5 separate regions of the Homo sapiens genome follow, and regions 1, 2, 3 and 5 are each linked to region 4. Evidence: promoter capture Hi-C in human tissues and cell types (Jung and others, 2019). All regions are on one chromosome and are shown on one strand. The core of a region is centred on a gene start or on the middle of the fragment in contact, and the rest is flanking DNA. Distances in the headings are between cores, read along the strand shown. Region 1 has its middle 12 kb from the start of GSAP. Region 2 has its middle 19 kb from the start of POMZP3. Region 3 holds the start of PTPN12 (protein tyrosine phosphatase non-receptor type 12). Region 4 holds the start of CCDC146 (coiled-coil domain containing 146). Region 5 overlaps GSAP (gamma-secretase activating protein).

Region 1 (2,700 bases), core at 188-2,687, 310 kb before region 4:
AAAGAAAATCAAGTCAATTTACATAATCCCTACAATGTCTACCGTTAATTATGTAAGAGGCGAGGCTGTCCCAGATATATAAGGTACGTCAGTTTCTTCCAAAATGTCGTTTTACCTATTATTAAGTTTTCATTGTCTCTCAAGGTGGAAAGCAACAGCTGTTTCCTGAAAATTGCTAAAATTGCATGAACAGTGTGGGAAGCAGGAAACATGCAACAAATACTTCTAAACTCAGAGATCCAGAATGAGATGGTTCCTATCTTCTTCAGTTCCGCAGCACTCATCCTTGACTTCCCATTGTGAAATGAACGACAAATGTTGGTTAAATGCCTACGATGTGCTGGGCTAGTGGTTCTCAAGTGTGGTTCAGCATCATCAACATCAGCATCACGTGGGAACTTGTTAGAGACGCAAATCAGAAGCTGTGGGGTGGAGCCTAGCAATCAGTGTTTTAATAAGCCCTCTATACAAGTGCCTCTTAGAATTGGCATTCCACAGGGTGATAGCAAGGTTGGGACGGGCGGGCCAGCCTGTGGGCAGTACGGGGAGTGGCTGATCACAAACAGCGCAAAGCTTATCCCACCAACTCGTTAGAGGGTGCTTCTCTTTCTGAGCCAGTTCAGGACTTGTATCTTGGAGGAGAAACTCCTCCTCTGGGATTCAGAGCTCATTCCAGATAAATGCTCAAATAGGAGATATTCTAACTTGTGGTTCATATTTTGTGCCAGCCATGAAAGCAAAGCTTCTCTCTATTGCTCTTGTAGCCCTCAATTTCGGAGCTTGAGCCTATCTCCAAGATGGAAAAACAAGGGACAGGAGGCCTAAAAAGGATTTGATCTCTATCATTACCATCTCTCATCTCACTTACCCTTCCCACTACTTTCCCCCATTTTCCTCTTGACCTCCCTGTGCCCAGAATGCTCACTCGAGAACTTGGGAGAGGTGAACAAGGGAGGGTGAGACGTGAGCTAGAGATGGCTGAGAGACAAGATGCTCCAGGGCAGTCCCCACATCCCCCGTTAACCTGCGTGCTTCCCATTCCAAGGGATGACATGCACCTTAGCTACCCTTAACTACACCCCAATCACTCCCTCTCCTCAGACAAAAAGCAATTCCAGGAAATAGAAGTTAGTTTTCACTTAAACAGGATGTGACTATGATGTATGTTTCAATTTCAGCTGGTGGTGACCTGGCTTCTAATAGGAACCCACATCCCCCAGTCCTTGGCGGAGAATGCCTGACAGTGTGGCCAGATTCCTGAGGTTTATGACCTTGTGACCCACAGAGCATTTCAGTCCTCTTCACTCAGCCTAGCAGGCAGATTTGGGGACTAATCATACTGGGAGTCACTATTTCCTGCAAGAAACCTTCCCTTAGGAAGCTTTGTAACATTTCTTTGCAATATCAAAGAGAGACTGAGAGACAGCAAGCTTTAATTTTCACCTGTGACTTAAAATTAATATGTAAATATAGGAAGGAGAAAGAGGAAACTGCGTGGATGGAATGACCTGAGACATCTGGGTCTTTATTCATTCCAATATTATTTTATGAGATTACTATTCAGCTACATACATGAAAGAGACTTCTGAATGGCAGACAGGGCAGAAGGCTTGACTTACCTAGATTGCATATAATCAGTATGTAAGGAGTTAGGATTTTTCTAACAGTAAAAGCAATCTTGACTAAGGCATTTGAAGCAAAAGTTAACACTACCTGAATCTTAGATCAAATAGAAGGGTTTACCCCAGAGAACTATCAAGCATTTTTTTCCAGAGATCTGTGGGGAAACCTACAATTTGATTTTTGAGGGTAAGTTGGGGAGTAGAGGAGAGTTTCTGAAAACTCTCCCTACTATTTCCTGTTTTATTTTTTGAGACGGAGTCTTGCTCTGTCACCAGGCTGGAGTGCAGTTGCACAATCTTGGCTCACTGTAACCTCCGTCTCCCGGGTTCAAGCAATTCTCCTGCCCCAGCCTCCCAAGTAGCTGGGACTACAGGCACGTGCCAAAACACCCAGCTAATTTTTGTATTTTTAGTAGAGACAGAGTTTCACCATGTTGGCCAGGATGGTCTCGATCTCTTGACCTTGTGAGCCACCTGTCTCAGCCTCCCAAAGCGCTGGGATTACAGGCGTGAGCCACCGCGCCCAGCCTATTTCTTCATCCTTAATTCTATTTTCCTGGTTCACTTTGTAGAATTTGCTACACAGGATGTCTTTCACTGTTAAAATTTTCATGTTTCCTTGGTTACTAGGTTGCAGTTTTCTCCTAAGCCCCTCTGTCTCTCTGCATATGAACTTGGTGACAGGGATTGGGAAGTGAATTTTTTTGATGATCTTATTGCTACTGTAGTTAAGAATCAGCACTGTTAAGCAAATGGGGCCTTGGGGATCATAGTTCAACTTCTTTTATTTTACAAATGAGAAAACCAAGTTCAGAAAAGTTAAGCAACTTGCCTAAGGTCACAGAGCCTGTTCATGCCAGGGCTGCCTCAAGAATCCAGGCCTGTTAACTCTGAGTCAAGTACTAAATACATGACTCCATTGCTGGCCTTTTTCTTTTCTTTTTTTTTAAATGCCTGAAATTCTTTACCCTCTTGAGACTCAGCTGAGCATTTGGCCAACCTGGTGTAAATATCAGGCTTTTTCTTAAGTGACAAAGTTTTGATACTATCAAAGAACACGGGAAACTACTATCTGCTC
Region 2 (2,700 bases), core at 162-2,661, 480 kb after region 4:
GTATCAGTTCTTTTGGCAGCCCTCAGGCAGCTGAGAACAGGAAAACACAATGCTTTGAGAATAAGGTCTGCTCTGCTGCCTTCAATACCAGAAACCACGCTGGGAATGTGGGCTGCCATCTTCAAGGTTCCCACTGAACCATGGAAGGTTGTGGGGCAAGGGCAAGTAAAATAACCCAGTTTTCCTACCATTTTGAAGTTGCTTTTTTCTTGATTCAGTGTTCATTTGGAGTATTAGTCAGTTTTCACACTGCTGGAAAGAACTGCCTGAGCCTGGGTAATTTATAAAGAAAGGAGGTTTAATTGACTCACAGTTCCACTTGGCTGGGGAGGCCTCAGGAGACTTACAATCATGGTGGAAAGCTAACAAGAAAGCAAGTACCCTCTTCACTGGCTGGCAGGAGAGAGGGGAGAGTGCAGGGGAAACTGCCACTTAAAAACCATCAGATCTCGTGAGAACTCCCTCACTATCACGAGAACAGCATAGGGCAAACCGCGCCCGTGATCCAGTCACCTTCCACCAGGTCCCTCCTTGACCCCTGGGGATTACAATTCAGGATGAGATGTGCTTGGGGACAAAGAGCCACATCAGATGATCTGGTTATTGTAAACCTTTGATTATTTTGATTATTTTTCTACAGTTCTCATGAAGTTGATTCAGACAGTTTTGCTTGGTTTATCAATGTTTCTGTGGGGGGATGGGGACTTGGAGATACCTACTCTGCCATTTTTGCTGATACCAGTCAACATGTTATATTTTCACTTTTACATAATTCAATATGTTTTCCAGTTTCCCTTGCGACTCACTCTTTGACCCATGAATTATTTAGAAGTGTATTTAATTTCCATGTGTTTAGAGATTTTCTGGTTTCTTTTTTAAATTGATTTAGTTTAATTATTTTACAGTCACAGAACATATTTTGTATGATTTCAGTTATTTTACATTTCTTAAGATTTGTTTTGGCCGGGCATGGTGGCTCACACCTGTAATCCCATCACTTTGGGAGGCCGAGGCAGGTAGATCACCTGAGGTCAGGAGTTTGAGACCAGCCTGGCCAACATGGCAAAACCCCGTCTGAAAAACACAAAAATTAGCCAGGCGTGGTGGTGCATGCCTGTAATCCCAGCTACTTGGAAGCTGAGGCAGGAAAATTGCTTGAACCCAGGAGGCGGAGGTTGCAGTAAGCCGATTGCACCTCTGCACTCCAGCCTGGGTGACAGAAAGAGACTCCATCTCAGAAAAACATTTGTTTTATGACCCAGGTTCTGGTAAATCTTGCTGAATCTTCCATGGGCAAAGAATGTGTACCCTGCTGTTGGTGTGTGAAGTCTCCTGTAAATGTCAGTTAGGTTCCATTGGTCGATGATGGTGTTCAGTTATTGTATTGTTTGCTGATTTTCTTTGCTGTTTTTTTCCTGTGAATGGTCTAAGCTTCCTATTTCCTGTTTCTTTGTATATTTTGTAGTTTTTTGTTGAGAACGTTGCATTTTAAGTGTTACAATGTAATGACCCTCAAAATGTGATTCTCTCAGACACCTGGGATTGCTGGGTTTTGCTTGTTGAGGTCTGGAGCTCCCCTTTTGTTACTTTTCCAAACTATTTTTGCAAAGTGTTTCTTCCTTGTGCTTGTGTGGTCACTGAAATTTGTTTCATTATCTCTGCAGTCAGCCAGCCACCTAACATGGATTTCCTTAAATAGGTGGCTTTAAATGGGGTGGGGCAGAGGAGGATTTTGTCTCTTTAATAAAATCTTCTGAAGGATGTCCCTGGGGAAGCCACTGTTGCTGAGAGGGCCAAATAAACCAAGGCAAGCATCCGGGCTGGTCCTCAGAGACCCATTGGACCCACCAAGGTGCAGAACCCACGGTTTTGGAGGACAGAGTTCTGCTGCTCGCCCTGGCATCAGCCAGCTGCTTCGGGAACTCAGGCTCAGGAATGGGGGAGTGTTGGCTGGTTGGCACATGCCACTCACTCGTGAAGATCAGCAGCCTCTCTCTTCATTGTTTAAGTATGTCTCTGGTTGTTAGGAGTTCCTGGTCATGTTTCAGAATTCCAAAAGAGCTGATTCCAATCACTCTTTCTAGCTCAGTGGTTGCTTCAGTGAAGGGACTGATCTCTACACTACAGCTTCCTACTCTGCCATCTTATGTGACTATTGATATTTATTTATTTATTGAGACAGAGTCTTACTCTGTTGGCTGGAGTGCAGTGGTGCAGTCACGGCCCACTGCAGCCTTGACCTCCTGGGCTTGAGTGATTCTCTCACCTCAGCCTCCCGAGTAGCTGGGACTATAGGTGTGTGCCACCATGCCTGGCTAATCTTTTTTTTTTCTTATTCTTTTTGTGGAGATGGGGTCTCGCTATCATGCCCAGGCTGGTCTCAAACTCCTGAGCTCAAGTGATTCCCTCCGCCTCGGCCCCCTAACGTGCTGGGATTATAGGCATAAGCTACCACACTTGGCCATGAGTCATTTTTAAAAAAACAGATTCCAACAACCTTTTTGATTGCTGTGTTTAGAAGATTTATATTTAATTTTGGACGGGTTTTTATTATCTATTTTCTACTTGTTCCCTCTGGGTTTTTTTATACCTGTTTCCCTTTTCTTGCCTTTTTATGGGGTACTTAGACATTTCTTAGTATGCCATTTAACTTCATATGCCGTGCTAAATCAATTCAGTATGCCATTTAGTATATATTTT
Region 3 (2,700 bases), core at 95-2,594, 410 kb before region 4:
TGTATCTAGAGCAATTTCATGAACAAGACTTTTAACCTTCACCTCCTCTCAAGACTGCCTGCACAAGCAGAGGGCGGAAAGTAGGGGGTGGCGGAGGCGGGGGGGCGCTGGGAAGGTTATCTCCCAGTTCAGGGCTTCGGCCCGTAGCGTCGCCTCCGCCCCACCAGGACTATTGTTCCCAAGTTCCCCACCCCCACCCCGGATAGGAAGTGATAGTCACATCCCCTCCGCCTTCGGCAATATCCCCTGGGGAGTCCGAAGTCGGCTGGCTTCCTTCAGGATAATTCCCCCACCCACACTTATCCCCTGAACCTATAGTCACACGGACCCCAAGACCACCTCAAACCTGGGCCTCAGGAGAGGAGAAGCGGGACGCGGGTAAATGGAAATTAGGTAAACCCATGAGATTCCTTATGGGCAATCCTTTCCCAAGCGTTGGAGATCATGACTGCGACCCCAGAAACGGCCTAAGTCCTACCCTGCCCGCTTTGAGACCAGCTAGAGCAAAGGGATCCCAGGAGTTAGTGCCAACCTCAATACCCCCGTTCCTCTGTCAGCCACGATCTGCACTCCTCCCGGTCACAGCCAGATACCTTGCCTCGACCCTCCTGGGAGGAGCGAACTGCGCGGGGAGGTGTGGAAACGCGAGCCCCCCCCCCCGGCCTGCACCTCACTTGCCTACGGCTCCCGGCCCGGTAAACAATAGGTGGTCGCGAGCCACGGTGCAGGCTGCGGGCTCGGCCGCGCGGCCGCTCCCTTCGCGTCCCGGGAACCCGCGCGGGGGTCGCGAACATGGGAGAAGAAAGGAGGCCACGGGGGGAGGCGCTCTCGCCTCCCGCTGGCCTCCGAGACCACCCGGCTCACCCGGCTGGTGCGCGCCCCCTCCGCCCCTCTCCTCACAGAGGTACACAAAGCACTGGCGGCCCGGCCGGGAGAGGCGGCGATGGGCTCCGGCGCCGGCAAGAAAACGCGACAGCGAGGGGAGAGACTCACCATGAAGTCCCGGGCGAAGTTGTCCTCCCCATTGTGGTCAGGACTCTTCATGGCCTGGACCCTCTGGATGAATTTCCTCAGGATCTCCACTTGCTCCATCCTCCCGCGTCCCCCCGGCTGCGGTCGCTGGCCCCCCCGCCGCCCGCCCGCCCGGCACAGAGCCCGCTCCGTCTTCCCCAGCTCGTTCCCCCAGCACGTCCCTCCCTCCCGACCCCGCCAAGCCCCGCGGCTCCCTCCTCCTCCCCACCGCCCTAGGCGGCGGCTGCGGCGGCACCGGCTGGGCTCCCGACACCACAACTTCCAGGAGCAGCCGCCGCTCTCCCACAGTACCAGGCGAGCCGCTGCGCTAGCGCCAACCCCAACCCCCAGCTTGCTCCATCCTCCTTCCCCGCCCTCCTCCTCCGTCGGAGACGCCGCCGCCGCCGCCGCCGCCGCCGCCGCCTCAGGAACACAGCTAGCTCTCCGCTCGCCCTGCCCCCCCTTCCCGGTTCCTCCTCCCCCCCACCCCCCGCCAGCAGCCGCAGCCGCAGCCGCAGCCGCCTCTCCCCACGGGCGCGTCCCCGCCGCCACCCAGATGCGCGGCCTCGCGCTGCGGCTCCGCCCCAAGCGCTGCGCCCGCAGATGCATCCCCGCCCGCCTCCCGGCCACGCCCCCAAGCCCGCCCCGCCGGCCCCAGCCCCGCTTGGAGTGGCTGGAAGGCACTTCAGCGGGCGGCCTGGAGACCTGACTCCATTTCCGGGGCGTGGCCCCGCCCGGGGTGCTCAGAGGTCGGAGTATCGCTGGGAGGAGAGTTGGTTCATTTGGAGGAGGGAATGCGACTCTGAGCGGGCCAAGCCCTAGTGGGTCAGAGTAGGATTCTGATGGAATTTGCGGTCTCACCGCCTACTAGGGAGGAAAAGCAGTTTTCAGGAGTCCCGCACCGCCGCCAGCCGTGGGCTGGGACTACAAGTCACGGTCTGTGGAGTCCAGGAGTGGGGGCGGGCGGGAGGCAGGCTGGGAGCTGTAGTAGTGTCACCGCCACGTTCGCAGCAGGTAGATGCTCATCTTGCTAACGGATTGGTGAGAGTGGACAGCAATTAGGCTTTGGCACCTTGGAGCGTGGCTCCAGCTAAGGGAAGCGAAACGCTTCCTGGGTGAGAGGACTTTTATTCTTTGCTCATCCTCTTAAACCTGGCGAGTGAGCGCCTGAGGTTCGGAGTGCCTTCTTCACAGACGACGCGAATGTGGGGTCTTCGTGTTTGCCGAACTGAAGGGAATTTGCCTTCCTGCCTTTAGGTTCGCAGCAGTTCATAACTGAATAAGAGACTTTCCTCCATAGAATGGACTTTATAAATCTATTAATTTTTTTTTTTTTTTTTTTTTAGAGCTAAGGTCTTGCTCTATCTCCCATGCCAAAGTGCAGTGCTATGATCACGGCTCGCTGCAGCCTTGAACTCCTGGGCTCAAGGCATCCTCCTGCCTCACTACGTCACCAAGCCCAGCTAATACATTTTAAAAATTTATTATTTATTTATTTATTTATTTTTGGTAGAGAAGGGGGTCTCACCAGGTTGCCCAGGCTGATCTCGAATTCCTGTGCACTAGGGATCCTCAGCTTCCGAAAGTGTTGGGATTTTAGGCGTGAGCCACCGCGCCTAGCCTATAAATCTTTATTCATCTTTGTAAACTTCTATCAGAGAATATATTCTGGTCTAACTCATCATTTTA
Region 4 (2,700 bases), core at 66-2,565:
AAAGACAAGAAAAGAACTATTGCAGTGGGCCCTTGCTGAACCTGAGCTAGCACCTATAATGAGTGAGTCTTCACCGAAAGAAGAATAAGGAGGGAGCAAGGACTAGAAGGACAGAAAAGAGGCAATGATAACTTAAGAGAACACTGAATTTTTAAAAATTTTAAAAAGGTAGTGGCTAGCAGAGAACCTGAGACTTGTACCCATGAGAACTTTAGCCCAGTCTATCTATCACGATAGCCCCAAGAATTCTGGTCATTGTACTTGGGTAAGGGCTTCAATTTTTTAAGGCACTTGCATTTTATGAAATGTTAGTGTTTGCAGGTGTCTTGGCTAAATAATTTAGGGAATACATTTTAGGAGGAAGTAGGGGCACAGAGGGGGAGAGAGAAACCAGGCAGGAAAGAAGAAAAAAAGAAGAAAATAAATCTTTCTGTTCCCATTATTTTACTGCCCATAGAATTATAAAAGGTAAACACACACACACACACACACACACACACACACACACACACACACACACACACACCTTATAGGGTCATTTAGAACCATCTTTCTTCATTTTAAAACTAAAGAAACAGGTCTAGGTGACACAGATGAAGCAGTGGCAGAGCCAGGAAAATAATCTGACCCTTGTCCCTGCTCTTTCCACCGCACCATGGTGACTCTCTTTTTTGTGTCTTTTTTTTTTTCACTCTAAAACTGATGATCATTTGTAGTCAAAGAGATCAATGCTATTCTCAAAACAAGTTCTGATCTCTCATAATTTTCTTGGTAACTCAGAATCAATGTTAAGTACGTTGAAATAAAAATACAGTACTTTACACGGTAATTTGGTAGACTGTGCACCACGGTCCCATCCATTTTCTTACTTGATCCTCACAAAAACCCTTTGAGGCAAGGCAAGGAAGGTATTATCATCTACATTTTTAAAGTGAGCAAATTAAAACCCAAAGTAAGGTCACTTAGGGTCAGGACGGAGCAAGTACTCTATTCCTATATTTGGAATATAGGAGGGAATACACTTCCAAAGAGGCAATTCCCTCAAAAAGCACCAATCTTGCTCTTTACTCTCTTACCAAGGCATTCTCCATGCCCTGGAGATGCCCGCACTAGGTTAGTGAAGCTTGGATCTTGACATCCACATAGGTTACTCCTAGTTTGCACCTAGTTGTCAACTTAAAAAGCGCAGTTTCTTACCCCTTCCCTTGGTCCTGATCCTTATTTAGGCTCCTATTTTTCTCTTTGGGATTTGGCCTCCTGGGTCTCACTCCAAAGCTCCACCCTCTCCAAACAAGAAGTCGCGTCCTTGGTATCCAAGGTGACCATGCAGCTTTACCCTCGTTGCCCCCTTCCGTGCTTCCCATTGGCCAGTGGCCTCCCATGTACCGCCCCTCCAATAGCCAATGGTCTTGAAACAAAGGGCGCCCGCCTTTCCAGCGATTCTAACACCTGCCCTCTTACCCGTGCTCCCCTGCGCATTGCCTCCTGGGATATGTGGTTTCTAAGAGGCGGAGCTCTGCGACTTTCCACCGCTTTAGAACTACGTATCCCGTCGGCCTTAGCGAAAGGGGGTGGACTTAGGCAAGGGGTCCAGGTCAGAGTTCAGAGCTTTCAAATCCCAACTTGCCCCTGGGGATTACGCAGCTGATGTTTACATCGCCTAGTCAAGCCAACCGGCTCGCTCTTGTTTCAGCAAACCCTGACTTACGTCTCCTATTTGACTTGAGGCGGCACAGTGGCCAAGTCGATTGGCCGTGGCAAGTGACCCTCCCTGTGGCTGAAGTGTTCTGAGGACTGGCGAGAGAGGCGCGCCATGCTTGCCCCCTGTTCAGGTTGGGAGCTTGGCTGCTTCCGTCTCTGTCTCCGTCAGGTCCGACTGTGGGCTGGCGCTGGGCGCTGGTCTTGCTGGGCTTGCCAAGCCAGGCCGTACAGCTCAGGTAGGGGCGAGCGCTGGCCCGGATCGGAGACTGAGGTCCCTCCGCCTGGCCCGGCGCGCCGAACTCTGAAGGAGTGGACACTGCAGGTGAGCCCGTTCGGTCGGCTGCGGGCGCGGCTCCCGTGCCACCTGGCCGTGAGGCCCCTGGACCCCCTCACCTACCCGGATGGCGACCGCGTGCTGGTCGCGGTGTGCGGCGTGGAGGGCGGCGTGCGGGGCCTGGACGGCCTGCAGGTGAAGTACGACGAGGATCTGGAGGAGATGGCCATTGTGTCTGATACTATCCACCCCCAGGCGTCCGTGGAGGTGAACGCGCCCCTGAAGTTTGGCAAGTGAAGTGAAGTGAAAACGGGTTTGGGTCCCAGGGAACGCACAGTGAACTTAATAAATTTGGTCGACGTGCACTTTTAATTGGTCCTGGCTTTCTAAACCTAATTTACAGTTGGCCCCTTCGGAAATGCAACTTTTCCTCTGTTCTATTCTTGAGTATCCGAGTAGTATTTAAAAAATTAGGTTCCCAATTATAGAAATTTTATACATCGAATGGAAACACGATTTGGTATAATCCAGGTCAAATTCTATTTCTGGAGCCGCTTGTGTTCTTCTTTATCCCGTTGTCATTAGCAAACTGGCTTATTTTTCAAGGTTGAAGTTTCTTGACAATTCATTCAATGGTATGGCAGTCCATCTACATTTCCCCTTGCTCACAGCCTGGGGGTGTGTCCCAAAACAGCCCTGTCAATAGGATGTTCCAGGTACCACCT
Region 5 (2,700 bases), core at 143-2,642, 280 kb before region 4:
AATTTTGAATCAATGAACAATTTCATTTTCTAGACAAAAAATGCCAAGTAAAAATGTTTAAACCTAATTAATATGTTAACATTTTATCATTGGAGAAAATATTAAATATGATTACTCTCTTCAGACGTAGATATGTTAGGACTTTCGAAGCATTATTATTATTTTGTTTTTAGAAACAGAGTCTTGCCCTGTCACCCAGGCTGGGGTGTGGTGGCACAATCATAGCTGACTGCAGCCTCAAACTCATGGGCTCAAGTAGGTTCCTTGAGCTCCTGCCTCAACCTCCCCAGTAGCTAGGACTATAGGCATGTGAAGCATGTTATTTAACAATGTGTTTTCAATGTCAAGTGTTCTAAGGAAAATTTAACTTTACTATAATAAGCACACATGAATAATTCAAATGGCCAGTTTGCTTTGCACAGTTATATCACTGTACTTTTTAAAGTAAAAATAATTATTTTAAGTTGTGTCTTAGAATGGTACCTTTAAGGAATTGTGTGATTCACAATGTTTTACTTATAAGAATGTTACGGACTTGTCCTAGTCATCCCTATTATCTATCATATGTGTGTGTTTTCAAAGACATAAGTGGAAGTATAAAAAGATTTACGCCCACCATGCTCAGTCCTACTAGACAGTTCCCCAAACTCACTGAGCTCTACACTGTTGATCCATTTCATTCTTTGAGCCCAAATGACTAGCTGAACTGGATTCAGTCCCCCTCTGACAGGCACAGAAAGCTTCTTTTAGAGTGCTTACTGCTAAGATTGAGTTATTGCAGGTTGGTTTTAAAACTAGTAACATTCTAACTTCCTAAACAATGACATTTAATAAACATCTGGTTAATTTTTTTTAGGATGATAAGGGAAATGTCGTCTTTGGATTATATGATTGTCAAACCAGACAAAATGAGGTAAAAATCATAGATTACTCATTGGTTACTTTACTGCCTTTAGAGTTTTCTTTGTCTCCTCCTTTTTCTAGATATAAATTCCAACTTTATTTTCTCTTTTTCTGTAAACATTTTATTTGAAAAAACAGAATTGCAATTTGAGGCATACACACAGACCAGGGTAGTCTTTGGTATGTCCAAAGAACTAAGAAAGGTTGGGGGTTTTATCAGAAAGAGAAATGTTACACATGGCTTTGAAAGAAAACTCATTGGCAATAGGAAAGTTTCCAGGAGCTGGCAGATCTCATCGGTGTGGGAAAGCAGTAGGTAAAACTAGTTTTAGAGCCATGGCAGTTTGTTTCAGCAGCTACTAGGTGAAGCTGTTCTTAAGTTTATGGCATTTGGTCATTTTGGCAGCTGGCTTGCACAATACCTGGGCAGGCCCTTGTGCCCTGTGTGCTGCTTTTTTCCTCTCCTGATCTCTTGATTTAACTCGATTGAGTATGACAGAATAACTCCAGTTCTTGTAATCAGTTATCACAGTACATGCAACAGTTTTATTCATTTATTTGTTGATGGACACCTGTTTCTAATATTTGCCTATTATGAACACTATTGTATACATAGGTATTTTTTAATTCTTTTGTGTGTGTATCTAGGAGTGGGAATACCAACTTTATTTTCTAAAAAATTATATTTCTTTGCTTTCCTTCTCTTCTCCCTTAACGATCTCTTGGTCCTGTTATCCTAAACAAAAAATGCAAGGACTATTGGACCACAAAGTGAGGTGAGGTCTCTTAGACCTTTGAGATTTAAGTAAAATTGGCTCAAACAAATTATTCAATATCCTCTAAGAAAGTAGGAGGTCCAATGTCCTTCTTGAGATTTGTGTACTCCCAGGTCATCCTATAATGACCTCTGACTCTTTCTGCTTCTGCTTAACCTTCACATGTCTTGTTTCTCATTATTTCTTAGTGATCCAGACAAGGAACCCCTTTCCTTATTTTTTTCCCCAAATTACTCACATAAGGCGTTGGTTGATGTGACAGGCTTTGTCTAATTCTGGGAGCAAATGGGAGGGAGTAATTTTGTACCTATGTAAAAACAATTTAGAATTGAATATTAGACATCTTTGAACTTAAATGTCCTTTATCCATTACAAATTTTTTACAGGTCACCTTACTCTTCAGGGTTCCAATACGCTGCTTGGTTAATTCTCTCTTCCCTTCTTCCACCCCTTTCACCTTTATTCATTAATTCATTCACCCATTCACTGATCCAACAAATAAGCATTGAGTGTTTTCCCTGTCAGGTGCTGGAGACACAGTGATGATCAACATAAACTCACAATACACAGTCTAGGGAAAGAGAATAAAATCTCAAGTTTTCAGTGCAATTGTTAGCTTAATTTCTGTGTGGCATGTATTCTAAAAAGGTGGATTGAGAGGAGACATCATAGTCTGTCTTCTGTCAATCCAGTTGTGGTGACTGCTGCTATCTTTTGTGGTCATATTCCTCTCTCCCAAGACTGTGAGCACTTGACAGTAGGAGCACTTTGCATACCAATGTGTTTTATCCCCGTTACCTTTAGCTTACTGCCTGTGAGTGGTAGGAGTACAGTGAATGTTTTTCACTGGATTGATAGTGATAGGTTCCCTCCAGAGTGGCTGTTTTTCAAAAATTTTCCAGTGACAAAGGTGCTTTGAATTCCAAAATGTGAAAGTTAGTCCAGAAAATAAATTGGCCAAAGGATAAATTAATAGGAAATTTAAACTAGCTTTGTAAACAGGCAAATTTTTCTTCTGAAC

The links. The method cuts DNA at HindIII sites, captures the fragments that hold promoters and counts their contacts. A contact is called where the count stands out against the background at its distance.
Region 1: a fragment that was not itself captured here is called in contact with the fragment with the promoter of CCDC146 in region 4 in 2 of the 25 tissues and cell types used here (H1 embryonic stem cells and hippocampus).
Region 2: a fragment that was not itself captured here is called in contact with the fragment with the promoter of CCDC146 in region 4 in 1 of the 25 tissues and cell types used here (H1 embryonic stem cells).
Region 3: a contact is called between the fragment with the promoter of PTPN12 here and the fragment with the promoter of CCDC146 in region 4, in 1 of the 25 tissues and cell types used here (hippocampus).
Region 5: a fragment that was not itself captured here is called in contact with the fragment with the promoter of CCDC146 in region 4 in 1 of the 25 tissues and cell types used here (small bowel).

Annotation. Positions count from the first base shown.
Region 1 is chr7:77,426,707-77,429,406 of GRCh38, reverse strand. No RefSeq gene overlaps it. Among named protein-coding and RNA genes, the nearest start is that of GSAP, 12 kb to the right of the region's middle. RefSeq lists an enhancer at 1,539-2,235. The HindIII fragment of the contact is 3,109 bases long and covers 1-2,700 here.
Region 2 is chr7:76,644,567-76,647,266 of GRCh38, reverse strand. No RefSeq gene overlaps it. Among named protein-coding and RNA genes, the nearest start is that of POMZP3, 19 kb to the right of the region's middle. The HindIII fragment of the contact is 3,357 bases long and covers 1-2,700 here.
Region 3 is chr7:77,535,939-77,538,638 of GRCh38, reverse strand. PTPN12 (protein tyrosine phosphatase non-receptor type 12) reads right to left here and starts at 1,344. Exons shown (of 18, transcript NM_002835.4): 1 at 994-1,344. The coding sequence starts at 1,092. LOC124901681 (a long non-coding RNA gene) reads left to right here and starts at 1,690. Exons shown (of 3, transcript XR_007060395.1): 1 at 1,690-2,268; 2 at 2,358-2,700. RefSeq lists silencers at 805-854, 995-1,204, 1,455-1,754 and enhancers at 1,825-2,044, 2,215-2,264. The HindIII fragment of the contact is 12,054 bases long and covers 1-2,700 here.
Region 4 is chr7:77,121,230-77,123,929 of GRCh38, reverse strand. CCDC146 (coiled-coil domain containing 146) reads right to left here and starts at 1,315. Exons shown (of 19, transcript NM_020879.3): 1 at 1,198-1,315. It also overlaps the pseudogene FAM185BP. RefSeq lists a silencer at 1,530-1,629 and enhancers at 1,525-2,024, 2,025-2,526. The HindIII fragment of the contact is 9,649 bases long and covers 134-2,700 here.
Region 5 is chr7:77,402,772-77,405,471 of GRCh38, reverse strand. It overlaps GSAP (gamma-secretase activating protein), which reads left to right. Exons shown (of 31, transcript NM_017439.4): 3 at 857-913. Among named protein-coding and RNA genes, the nearest start is that of GSAP, 12 kb to the left of the region's middle. The HindIII fragment of the contact is 3,186 bases long and covers 1-2,700 here.